Regions from separate parts of the Homo sapiens genome. Here regions 1 and 3 are each linked to region 2. Evidence: promoter capture Hi-C in 16 types of primary human blood cells and fetal thymus (Javierre and others, 2016). All regions are on one chromosome and are shown on one strand. The core of a region is centred on a gene start or on the middle of the fragment in contact, and the rest is flanking DNA. Distances in the headings are between cores, read along the strand shown. Region 1 overlaps P2RX3 (purinergic receptor P2X 3). Region 2 holds the start of YPEL4 (yippee like 4). Region 3 holds the start of PRG3 (proteoglycan 3, pro eosinophil major basic protein 2).

Evidence for each region. Contacts are between HindIII fragments. The CHiCAGO score rates a contact against its expected background, and 5 or more counts as called.
Region 1: a fragment that was not itself captured here is called in contact with the fragment with the promoter of YPEL4 in region 2 in 5 of 17 cell types (M1 macrophages, activated CD4 T cells, M0 macrophages and 2 more); the score reaches 7.4 in M1 macrophages.
Region 3: a fragment that was not itself captured here is called in contact with the fragment with the promoter of YPEL4 in region 2 in 1 of 17 cell types (activated CD4 T cells); the score reaches 6.5 in activated CD4 T cells.

What each region holds. Positions count from the first base shown.
Region 1 is chr11:57,360,317-57,364,027 of GRCh38, reverse strand. The region is part of intron 8 of P2RX3 (purinergic receptor P2X 3); the gene reads right to left. Among named protein-coding and RNA genes, the nearest start is that of PRG3, 19 kb to the left of the region's middle. The HindIII fragment of the contact is 9,478 bases long and covers 1-3,711 here.
Region 2 is chr11:57,648,570-57,652,635 of GRCh38, reverse strand. It overlaps YPEL4 (yippee like 4), which reads left to right and starts at 2,724. Exons shown (of 5, transcript NM_145008.3): 1 at 2,724-2,951. It overlaps MIR130AHG (MIR130A host gene), which reads right to left. Exons shown (of 2, transcript NR_186232.1): 2 at 1-2,338. The HindIII fragment of the contact is 14,007 bases long and covers 1-4,066 here.
Region 3 is chr11:57,380,197-57,384,195 of GRCh38, reverse strand. PRG3 (proteoglycan 3, pro eosinophil major basic protein 2) reads left to right here and starts at 3,046. Exons shown (of 6, transcript NM_006093.4): 1 at 3,046-3,082; 2 at 3,415-3,548. The coding sequence starts at 3,488. RefSeq lists an enhancer at 3,658-3,999. The HindIII fragment of the contact is 1,388 bases long and covers 576-1,963 here.

The DNA.
Region 1 (3,711 bases), core at 156-2,655, 290 kb after region 2:
TCAAAGTGAGGGCTGGCTAAATTTATCCTGGGAAGGAATGTGAAGGGAACAGGGAGAAAAATCAAAGCGGACTTGGTTTTTCTCCAGCACCTGCCTTCCAAGAGGCAATAAGCATGGTAAGATCATTATCTCACCAACCACCCACCCTCTGAGGAGGGTTGGCAGGGACTGGTTCTCTTCCCGGGTGGAGGGAGGAGGAACAGAGCTCAGGGAGTGTGGGCCCAGGCTGCAGACAGAGGGGGTAACCCAGAAGTCCCAGCTTCTGCACTCTCCTGTGGCCGATGGGGATCACAGAATCTGCCCACCCCTGTGACAGAGACAGCTCATTGGTCACCAGGGTCTGGTTATCTCCTCTCTTTGCAGATGATTAGACCACATTTCCCAGTCCCCTGCATTTAGCTGGGGCCCCATGACTAGTTTTTGCTGATGAAATATGAATGGCCGTGAGGTTTGTTACCTCTGGACTGAGGTAGTTTAGAGCAGTGTACCTTCTATGTCTTCCCTTTCCTCACCTGATGGCCAGTTGCTCAGGAGTCAGGAGAGGACTCTGAGGCTCTAGAGAGACTGAGTCAAGATGGCAGGAGCCTAGATCCCTGAATGACTGCATGGCGCTCCCCACCCCCACTGGCCCACAGTGCACTGTGCCATAGGTAAGAAATCAACCTTCACATTAAGCCACTGAAATGAGGGGTTTGTTTGTTATAGCAACTAGCAATGCTAACCCTGACTGTTGCAAACTCTCAGAATTTCATGGCTGAGAGATGTAATTTGCCAAGGGACAAAGAAAGAGCTGAAGTTGGGGAGTTACTCAGGATTAGACAGAGGGCACAGTCCCATGATGCTATATCCCAGGAGTAAACCCTCTAAGGAGGCCCTAGGGGATCTGGGTGTGGTGCTATGGCTGTTGTGAATTAGCTTCTTGATCTTGGGAAGGTCATTCGACTTCTCTGAGCTTTTTACTTCAACTGAAAAATTGGAGGAAAAAGAGCTCTGAGGAGGATGAGTTGAGAGAGTGTCCATATATAGTCCGTGCTTAAAACACATCCCTTATCCTAGCATAAAGATAAAATGAAACAATATCTACATTTACTTTAATCATTACACTCTCCTGGCTCCTGTAGATAATGATATTAGTAATAATAACAGCCAACATCTACTGAGTACTCCTCTGTGACCCGACACTGTGCTAAGTGCTTATGCTTATTAGCTCATTTAATGCTCACAACCACCCCATTGCATTTAAGTACTGTTGCTATTCCCATGTCACAGCTGAGGAATCAAGATCAGAGAGGTGAAGCAACTTGTCTAAGGTCACAAAACCAACAGTGAGTGAAGCTGGGATTCGAACCCAGGCAGTCCAGCTGTCGGACCCACACTCTTAGCCAGCATTCTACACTGTTCTTTTGTTGCTTGATTTCTGTTGGGTCATAACTAATTTCGTTCTCCAGCTGGTGCATCTTTTTGCATTTGCTAGGTGGGTCTCCATACCCAGAGTCACTGGCTGGGAGCAGAACAGGAAGCCTGGGGGGCCATGCAGTGTCAGGACAGAAGGACCCTGTAGCCTCCTCATCTAAAAAGGGGAATGGCTCAGCTACATACACCATGCCCAAGCCTTGATTTTCCCCAAGTCCTCTGGTTCTTACCAGATCATTTTTATTTTTTTGGTTAGGATTGGGGTTGGTGAGAATGACAGGACCATTCGATACCTTGACTCCTCCCGACCTGGCCCAGTCCACCTGCCTTATCTGCAAGCTCTTCTCCCTGCCACACGCTCAAGTTCCAGCCACACCAGACTACCTGCCTTCCTGCATTTCCTGAACACATCCCACAGACACAGATGTCTATGCTTTTGCCCATGCTGTTCCTCTTGCCTCCCTTTTCCACCTTGCAGACTCCTATTCATCCATTAGAGCCCAGCTCAGATGACCTCTTGTTCTTTCAGCATTCAACAAACATTTGGAGCACACCTGCTCTGTGCCAGATACTGTTCTAGGTACTGCTGATACCTTGCCAAGCTCTGCTGTCATGAGAGGGAGAGAAATACTAATTAACCACACAAGCCCATAAGTAGCTAAAATCGGACATAAGGAAGGGTTGGGAAGGAGAGGAGTGCCATTCTATGAGCACAGTTAGATGTCTAACCTAGGCTGGGGGTTAGGCAAGGCTTCATGTGAAAGTGACCCTGAAACCGGCAATACCATTTAACCCAGCAATCCCCTTACTGGGTATATACCCAAAGGAATATAAATCATTCTATTATAAAGATACATGCATGCATGTTTATTGCAGCACTGTTCACAATAGCAAACACATGGAATCAACTCAAATGCCCATCAATGATAGACTGGATAAAGAAAATGTGGTATATATACCATGGAATACTATGCAGCCATGAAAAGGAATGAGATCATGATCTTTGCAGGGATATAGATGAAGCTGGAAGCCATCATCCTCAGCAAACTAACACAAGAACAGAAAACCAAACATTGCATGTTATCATTCATAAGTGGGAGCTGAACAATGAGAACACATGGATACAGGGAGGGGAACAACACACACTGGTGCCTGTTGGGGGTGCAGGGGGAAGGAGAGCATCAGGATAAATAGCTAATGCATGTGGGGCTTAATACCTAAGTGATGGGTTTATTGTGCGGCAAACTACCACGGCACACGTTTACCTACGTAACAAACCTGCACGTCCTGCACATGTATCCCAGAACTTAAACTTAAAAAAAAAAAAAGTGACCCTCAAGCTGGGGCTTGAAGGATGGAGAGTTAAAAGGGCAAGAAGGCCAGAGGCAGGGGCCGCTTTCCTGGCTGAGGGATCTGCAGGCCCTCTCACGGGAAAGAACGTGGTGTTTCTGAAGCAGCTGGAAGAGGGTTGGTGGGCTGGTGGGTAGAGGCAGATGGAAGTGGCAGCAGCTGGGTCCACACATCCCAGCTGGCAGCCAATTGTGTGCATCTCTTCCCAATTCCATGTTTAGTGACTTCACCTTGGTAGCTTGAAATTGACCATCCTGGAGTATTTACCTCACAGAAATCCAGCCAATGCTACAAACCAGGGGCATGAGCTGGGGTTGGGACATCCCCCAGGGCTGCCTTTTCTCTCTCCATTAGGATTCAGGCCTCTACTACAGTATCTGCCACACCAGACTATAGCTAATAATTTGGACTACGGACTATGAGCCATATCTCGCTGTTTCTTTTTCTTTCTTTTTTTCTTTTTTTTTTTGAGACAGAGTCTCGCTCTGTCACCAGGCTGGAGTACACAGTGGAGCGATCTCGGCTCACTGCATCCTCTGCCTGCTGGGTTCAAGTGCATCTCCTGCCTCAGCCTCCCAAGTAGCTGGGATTACAGGTGTGCACCACCATGCCCAGCTAATTTTTTGTATTTTTTTTAGTAGAGACAGGGGTTCACCATGTTGGCCAGGATGGTCTCCATCCTGACCTTGTGAACCGCTCACCTCGACCTCCCAAAGTGCTGGAATTACAGGAATGAGCCACCGCGCCTGGCCTCATATCTCACTGTTTCTGTTTGCCCAAAGGCCTAATGCTCACAGTAGGGGGTTGAGTAAATGCTTGCTAGAAGAATAAATAATTTCTGAGATTCTTGACATCTCAAAGATTGAGTTTAGGTAGGTTGTCCTCAGGGCTCCCTCCTGCTGCCACTGGTTTCTCCAAATGCTCCTGATTCTGCAGGTGGAGCTAGTA
Region 2 (4,066 bases), core at 1,475-3,974:
GTATTTTTAGTAGAGAGGGGGGTTTCACCACGTTGTCCAGGCTGGTCTCGAACTCCCAACCTCAGGTGATTCGCCTACCTCGGCCTCCCAAAGTGCTGGGATTACAAGGTGTGAGCCACCTCACCCAGCCAAGAATGCTTTTTTTTTTTTTGAAACAGAGTCTCGCTCTGTCACCAGGCTGGCGCGATCGGCTCACTGCAACCTCTGTGAGTACAGTGGCGCCATCTCAGCTTACCGCAACCTCTGACTTCCTGTTCAAGCGATTCTCCTGCCTCAGGCTCTCGAGTAGCTGGGATTACAGGCACGTGCCACCATGTCCAGCTAATTTTTGTTATTTATTAGGGATGGGGATTTCACCATGTTGGCCAGGATGGTCTCGATCTCCTGACCTTGTGATCTGCCTGCCTCGGCCTCCCAAAGTGCTGGGATTACAGGCGTGAACCACCGCACCTGGCGAGAATGTTGTTTTGAAATGACACTACTGTTTACTGCCTATCATGTGCCAGGCATTTTTCAGGCATTTAAATGTTATCTCACTTTATTCTGCATCTCCATGAGCTAATAATAATAAATATTATTAGCTTCATTTAGCAGAAGAGTAAGACTAAGGCACAAAGATTATCAGTAATTTGCCTAGTGGTTCCTGCCAAGTAATTGGCAGAGCTAAGAGTCTAATTCAGTCTCTTTGAGACCAAAGCCAGACACTTGGTTCATGTCTGAAGATGCAACTCAACTGCTCTATTAATCAGAGTTCTCTAGCGGGATAGAACTAATAGGATAGATGTATATATAAATCAGAGTTATTACGGAATATTGACTCAGATGATCACCAGATGAGGTCCCACAGTAGGCTGCCTGCAAGCTGAGGGGCAAGGAAGCCAGTCCGAATCCCAAAGTTGAAGACCTTGGAGTTCAATATTCGAGGGCAGGAAGCGTCCAGCATGGGAGAAAGACGTAGGCTCAGAGGCTAAACCAGTCTGGTCTTTCCACGTTCTTCTGTCTGCTTTTATTCTGGCCTAGCTGACAGTTGATTACATTGTGCCCATCCAGATTGAGGTGGGTCTGCCTTTCCTAGTCCATTGACTCAAATGTTAATCGCCTTTGGCAATACCCTCACAGACACACCCAGGAACAATACTTTGCATCTTTCAATCCAATCTAGTTGACAATATTAACCATCACCAGTCCACCCCTTGTCAACTTGAACCCATACACGTCTCCTGAAATCATACATGATCTTCAAATAAAGACAATAATAAGGTCATAATTACGCTTAACATAATACAGCTATCCTTTGTACAACCGGAAACGCACCAATCCCCAACCCAAATGCTATTACATAGAGTTAACAACACTTAAGTGCTGATATCAAGTCAGTAAGTCTTATGTCACATGATAAAGGCAAAAGAAAGGAAATAAAATGAAGATATTTTCTTAATACAAGTGTATATATGCACAAACATGTTCCTAACAAAAGGAGGAGGAAATACTCATGACAATTACAGTCCTCATTTTCTGCAGCTGGTCACATGGTCATAGTTCGTATTGATGACTACCTTCTTTGACTACCCATTCTGAATTCCGTTTGCCTTCAGCAAGCACCTCAGCAGATTATGTTTTTTTTACCTGGTGGAGTGACCCAAACCTTCATTCCTGAAGGGTCTGGGCCATTTGTCATCCTGCCTGGATTGGGCTGTTGCAGTTTCCCATTGACCTTAATCACAGGGCATGGTAATATTAAGAGACGCCCTACGTGATCTCCTGTATTCCACGCATACTTCCTTACCGCCATTGTGGAGTAGTAGACTGATTTCATCTTGATAGTCTGGGTCAAACACTGTAACTCCCTTCTTAGCAAGTTGGCTTAAAAGTAAGAAGAGCCCAAAGTGGCCAGGTGGCAATCTTAACTTCCAGTTTAATGGAATCATTGTTGTGTCTCTTGGTGGCAGCATTCCTCCCTCTGGAACTAAGACCTCTAGGCCAGCAGAACATAATGCCGCGGAAACAACTGCTATTTTGGAAACATCTAAATGCACGGGTCTGCACTGGACATTGCAGTCCTGGGATGTAGAGAGTAATTTCCCAGAAGGCCTGTCTCAGGAAGTTTACAGCCCAATAGAGAACTTCATATAACGTAGGTGTCTCCATTCATGAAGCACGCATAATATGGAGGTAGCTGTTAAGGGGTTCCTGCATGCAAAATGTCACATTGGGTCTATTACTCCTTCAGGAGTATTAAACCAAGGCTTTGAGGCTTGGTACAAGTTTGGGGGCACAGTTTGCCATCCATGACAATTAGTACATCTGTCTTTTCCCTGCTTCAGGGCTGGTGTCCAAGCTGAAATGGGAAAGTGTATCATCTTAAATGTGTGTGTGCTCCCTCACTCTGCATCCATCTCTTCCTTCACCAGCCTTGCCACCTCCTTTCCTCCAGCCCTGCCACCCTCACTGCATCCTTGCCCAGCCCTGTCCTTCCCCCAGGTTCTTCGTATCTCCTTGGCCCCACTGCCTTCCTCCTTAACAACCTGCCTCTCCCCTTGCCCACCATCGCCGCCTTGTCCCTCGGCCCCCACTCCTCTAGCCCCGTCCCTTGATGCCTACCCCCTCCCTTCCTTCCGACCCGCCTCCTGTGTCTCCCAGCCCTGCTCTGACGTGGGAGGTGAGGGGGGGTGGGGGGGATGGATGACTCACAGTGTTATGATGCAGTTCCACAACACACAGCCACATTCACCCACAGACCGAGGTACAGAACGAGAGACAACCTCTGCCCCCCCAGCAGCTGGCCAGCTTTGCAGCCCCAGTCTTGAGCCCCCAACTACCCTCCCCCCACCCACCCCCATCCCCTTCCCAATTGAAGGAGCGGAAAGAGAAGAGAGAAGAGTGAGCAGAGAGATTGAGAGATTGAGAGAGAGAGAGAGAGATAGACGGAGATCTCTGGAGCAGACCTCAAGGTGAGGGGGCAGCCCTTCTCCAAATGAATTTTTTTCTCTTTGCAAATTTCCTCCTCCTGCTGCGTGTTGCTTTCTCCCCTTTGCAAAAGCATTATTCATCCACCCTTTGTCCTCCCTTCCCCCTCCCCGCTGCCTCCGCTCCTCTCTCTCGGTTCCTCCATCCCTCTCCAAGCTCTGACGATTCCCGCACTTATTTCCCGGCAACTTTGGCTGCAGCATCAGGCATCACTGTTTATTGTTTTGCTGCTGGTGCAGACCCCCAAAGCCTGCCCTGGGAGCTGGCGGTGCTGCTAATTATTTGGACCATACCATACTGAGAATACCAGCCTGGGGGGTGCCAAAACCTCAGAGCAGATGAGAAAATCCATTGTGAGCAGGTGTCCCCCCCCTTTTCTTTTCCCCCCTGAGAAGCACGAGATTCGCACCTGGTTCCTCCAGCCTCCGCCTCGGCGCCTCTGCTGTCAGCTGTCAGTTGCCCCCGCCAGCCCTCCCTCTCCCCTTTCTCCTACGGTCCAGCCCCGTCTCACTTCAGGGGAACATCTCTCCCCAGCACTCGGCTTGCCTTTGTTTTTTCTCCAGTCATTTGCCCAACTTGCTTCTCCCTGTGATCCGAGATGGGTGAAAAAATGACCCCTACTCCCCTTTGTGATTCTCTGGCCTTCTGTGCAGCCTTTCCTTGGCTTGACTGGGAATTAGGGGAGAGGGAGGGAGGCGTGACGGCCGGAGGCTGGAGAAGGAGCTCAGGATTGGGGACCCAAGCTGCCCCATTCTCCATGCCCCTTGAAGAAGGTGTTTCAAGGTGGTGCATGTCAGAGGGGAACTCGCTGGCAAAGTTGAAGGCAAACCTGTGAAGCAGAGACTGAAAGGTGGTCTCTTGGCAAGGAGGGCCCGTTTCCTGCAGCCGGAGCCCAATGTCACCCTGAACTCAGCCCAAGGTGTCTTCCTGGGACCCAGCCCGGAGGAGAGGACCTGAAACTGAAGATAGTCTCTATGGAGGTTTTGCGGAGAGACTGCCTGGCGGCCTTCAGAGAGAGTGGAACAGCTGGGTGCCTGTGGCCACTGCGGAGGACAGGACGAGGAGAGCCTGTATGCCCTGGCTAACCAGAGCCAACACT
Region 3 (3,999 bases), core at 20-2,519, 270 kb after region 2:
CTACTTGCTTGTGACCTTGGGCAACTTGTTTAAAGTCTCTGAGATGTCATTTCTCCATCTGTAAAATGAAACAACAAGGCCGGGCATGGTGGCTCCCACCTGTAGTCCCAGCACTTTGGGAGGCCAAGGTGGGTAGATCACCTGAGGTCAGGAGTTCAAGACCAGCCTGGCCAATATAGTGAAACCCCGTCTCTACAAAAATAAAAAAATTATCTGGGCATGATTGCAGGTGCCTCTAATCCCAGCTACTCGGGAGGCTGAGGCCGGAGAATTGCTTGAACCTGGGAGGCGGAGGTTGTAGTGAGCCGAGATCATGCCATTGCACTCCAGCCTAGGTGACGGAGCAAGATTCTGTCTCAAAAAAAAAAAAAAAAAAAAAGAAAAAAGAAAAGAAAAAGAAACAATGAATGAGTGTGAGGCTCATGGTAGTATTGGTTCCTGAGAGTAGCCAACCTTATTGGTCATCCCAGCCACGAAGTGAAATGGTACCCCTGGCTTGGGCCAATGAATGAGGAAGAATAATGGCAAATGGGGGTCTATGCCTCCACCCTCCACCACTAGGGAGGTCTCAAGCTTGAAATCCAGTGACCAGGTTTTTAGGTCCTGGACCTGGCCAGTCCTCCTACAGTCAAGTAGATAAGTGGAGGGTTTGGTCCGTTGGGCTACGGAGATAGTGATCAAGGCCGTTACTCTGCAATCAGACTCAGAAATGGCCTCTCAGTTACTTCTCCATTTGTGGGTCTTTTGGAAGAGCAGAGAAGAGGAAGGAATTTAGGTCTTCTCACCCTCTGGGCTGCCTGTCCCTGCTCCCTGAGCCATGGAGGGCTGGGGTGGAATATGGGGAATAAATCTGTACTTTTTTTTTTTTTTTTTTTTGAGACAGAGTCTCGCTCCGTCGCCCAGGCTGGAGTGCCGTGGCGTGATCTCTGCTCACAGCAGCATCTGCCTCCCGGGTTCAAGTTATTCTTCCACCTCAGTCTCCTGAGTAGCTGGGATTACAGGTGCCCACCACCACGCCCGGCTAATTTTTGTATTTTTAGTAGAGACAGGGTTTCACTGTGTTGGGCAGGCTGGTCTCAAATACCTGACCTCAGGTGATCCACCCGCACATGCCTCCCAAAGTGCTGGAATTACAGGCATGAGCCACCGTGCCCGGTCCTACCAATCTGCACATTTTAATTGACAAGGGTCACCCTCCACTCATGTGCCAGGCATAGTTCTGAGAAGCATCCCACAAGGATGCCTCTGAGTTCACCCTGACAAGTCCACTAGCTCTTGGCAGAGACATCTGGCAAATTCAAGGCTTGAGACATGCTGGCCTCTCTTTAAAGTGCAGCAAATTTTGTCTAGAGCTTGGTCAGTTAAAATTTTGATGTTTTGTTTTGCATTAATTTCAATTTTTAAGAAATGTTGCATTAAAATGTTATTTATCTTGAATAGTAAATTTCTTAGTGTCCCCTTAATTTCTTAGTGTGTCTGAGTTGAGAGCCTCCCCTGCCTGATTCTAGTCCAGACCCTGGGGTGACAGAAGACTGGTGGGAGATGGGAGGTGAGGAGGGGAGTGTTGGTTGGAGAGGATGATCTACAGAGTGCTGGAGAGACTCTGTATGGAGCTTTTCATGCTGCCTGTTTGCCAGCCCTGAAGCTATGCCTTGAGGTTGGGCAAGGTGGCATATCCTAGATCAGAGATCCTCAACTGGGGCCATTTTTCTCCCCAGAGGACATTTGGAAACATGTGGAGACATTTTTGATCATCTGCGGGGGTGGGGAGAGGGGCTACTGACATCTGGTGAGTAGAGACCAGAGGGACCATTAAACTTTCTACAACGCCCAGGACAGCCCCTCCACAATAAAGAGTTATTTGACCTCACATATTAATAGCACAAAGTTGAGGAACCTTGATCTAGATCCACAGCACAGAAGAAAGGATGTAGATTTTTCACACATTAAAGATGAGAAAGCTTGTGCCTGTAATCCCTGTGACTCAGGAGGCTGTGGCAGGAGGATTACTTGAGCCCAGGAATTCAGGGTTACAGTGAACTATCATCGCAGCACTGCACTCCAGCCTGGGTGACAGAGCAAGATTTTGTCTCTTAAAAAAAAAAAAGATGAGGACAGGCACAGTGGCTCATGCCTGTAATCCCAGCATTTTGGGAGGCCGAAGTGGGTGGATCACGAGGTCAGGAGTTCAAGACCAGCCTGGCCAGCATAGTGAAACCCCATCTCTACTAAAAATACAAAAAATTAGCCAGCTACTTGGGAGGCTGAGGCAGGAGAAGCGCTTGAACCCGGGAGGTGGAGCTTGCAGTGAGCCAAAATCTTGCCATTGCACTCCAGCCTGGGCGACAGAGCAAGACTCCGTCTCAAAAAGAAAAAAAAAAAAGATGAGAAAGAGGAAGGGAGAGAAAAAAGAGAGAGAGGAAAGAAAGAGAGAAGGTTTTGGAGTCAAAAAGACTTAGAAATTCCAGTTCTTCCACTTCCCATGGAACCTTGGCAAGTTGCCTTCTCTCTTTCTCTGAATCTCACATTTTGCCTCTGTGAAGTAGGGGTGGTACCTGGTGGAGATGATGCGGAGATGAGGGTGAGGGGTGTGTTGCACACTATGCCCCTAGGATGGGTGAGAGCTTGGGAGCACTGAACCTCCCTTTCCCCTCTTGTTTCTTCCCCCCATTGTCTCCCACCAGCTCCCTGGGATCTCCACTTCACTCTCTGGGATTCCACCAGCAGGAGGCTACTCCTGGAGTTAAGGCGTGTTGTTCAGACTGGGGCATTTTAGGGGGCATAAATAATAATTATGCCTGGACAATGGACATAACATCTAGGGCCTTCTGAAGCAAACCAGGGTGTGGGGTACCCAAACAAGGCAGTAGGCCCCAGGAGGCAGGTCCCTGCAGTCCCAGCAGAGAGCAGGGCACAGGGTTGAGAAGACTGAGCAAACTTCATTATCAGCTCCTTTGTCCCCCACTCTGTCCTGGAGCAATCATTCTGGCCTCTTCCCACTTCCCCAAAAACCCAGTATAAAGGCTGCTTCTGGCCCCTGAAGCCAGAGGCACTGAGAGTGGAGGTCTCAGACTCTTGGAAGGTGAGTTCTTTTCTGGCTGCCCAGGCAGGACCAGTGTAGGCCCTGGGAAGAAGCAGCACCTCATAGGGCAAACACGTAGGAGGCCTGTCCTTAGGAACATCATAGCTAAGCAGACCTGTCCCCGCAGGGGCAGGAGTCTGGGCTAAGGGTGATACTGGAGAGCAGCAACGGAGACTGGAAGACAAATGAAATTTGGTACCTGAGTTATCCCTCCCACCATTCCTTTTCTAGACTCTCCAGCTCAGGGTCTGTTCATGGCAAGAGGAGAAAGCAATCTTGTTTGCTCTTTAATCAAACAATTAAACAAATATTCCCTCTATACTATGTGCCAGGGGCTATACTAGACACACAAAGACAGCCCCAAGAAGGACGGTGGAGTAGTGTCCTCGCTAAAAGACAGTAGATATGCAATGCCTCTTGCTCCTGCCCTTTCTCCTGCTGGGAACAGTTTCTGCTCTTCATCTGGGTAAGTCTCTCCCTTCCCTCCTCATGCGTCTTTCCCTTTTTTCCTTTTTCCTACACTCCCCTCCCCCCGCTTTTATTTGCACTCATGAGGCCAGGACCACAGCCTTCCCTCTTTAGCTGATACAGCTCATCTCCGGTAAGATATCACTTGGACTCAGAACTGTAACCTGGAACTTTCTCTTTTTTGTTTGATTTTTTTTTGTTGTTGTTGTTTTTGTTTTTTTTTTTGTTTGTTTTTTGTTTTGTTTTGAGACGGAGTCTCGCTCTGTTGCCCAGGCTGGAGTGCAGTGGCGCGATCTCGGCTCACCACAAACTCCGCCTCCCGGGTTCAAGCAATTCTTCTGCCTCAGCCTCCTGAGTAGCTGGGACTACAGGCACATGCCACCACGCCTGGCTAATCTTTGTATTTTTAGTAGAGATGGGGTTTCACCATATTTGCCAGGCTGGTCTCA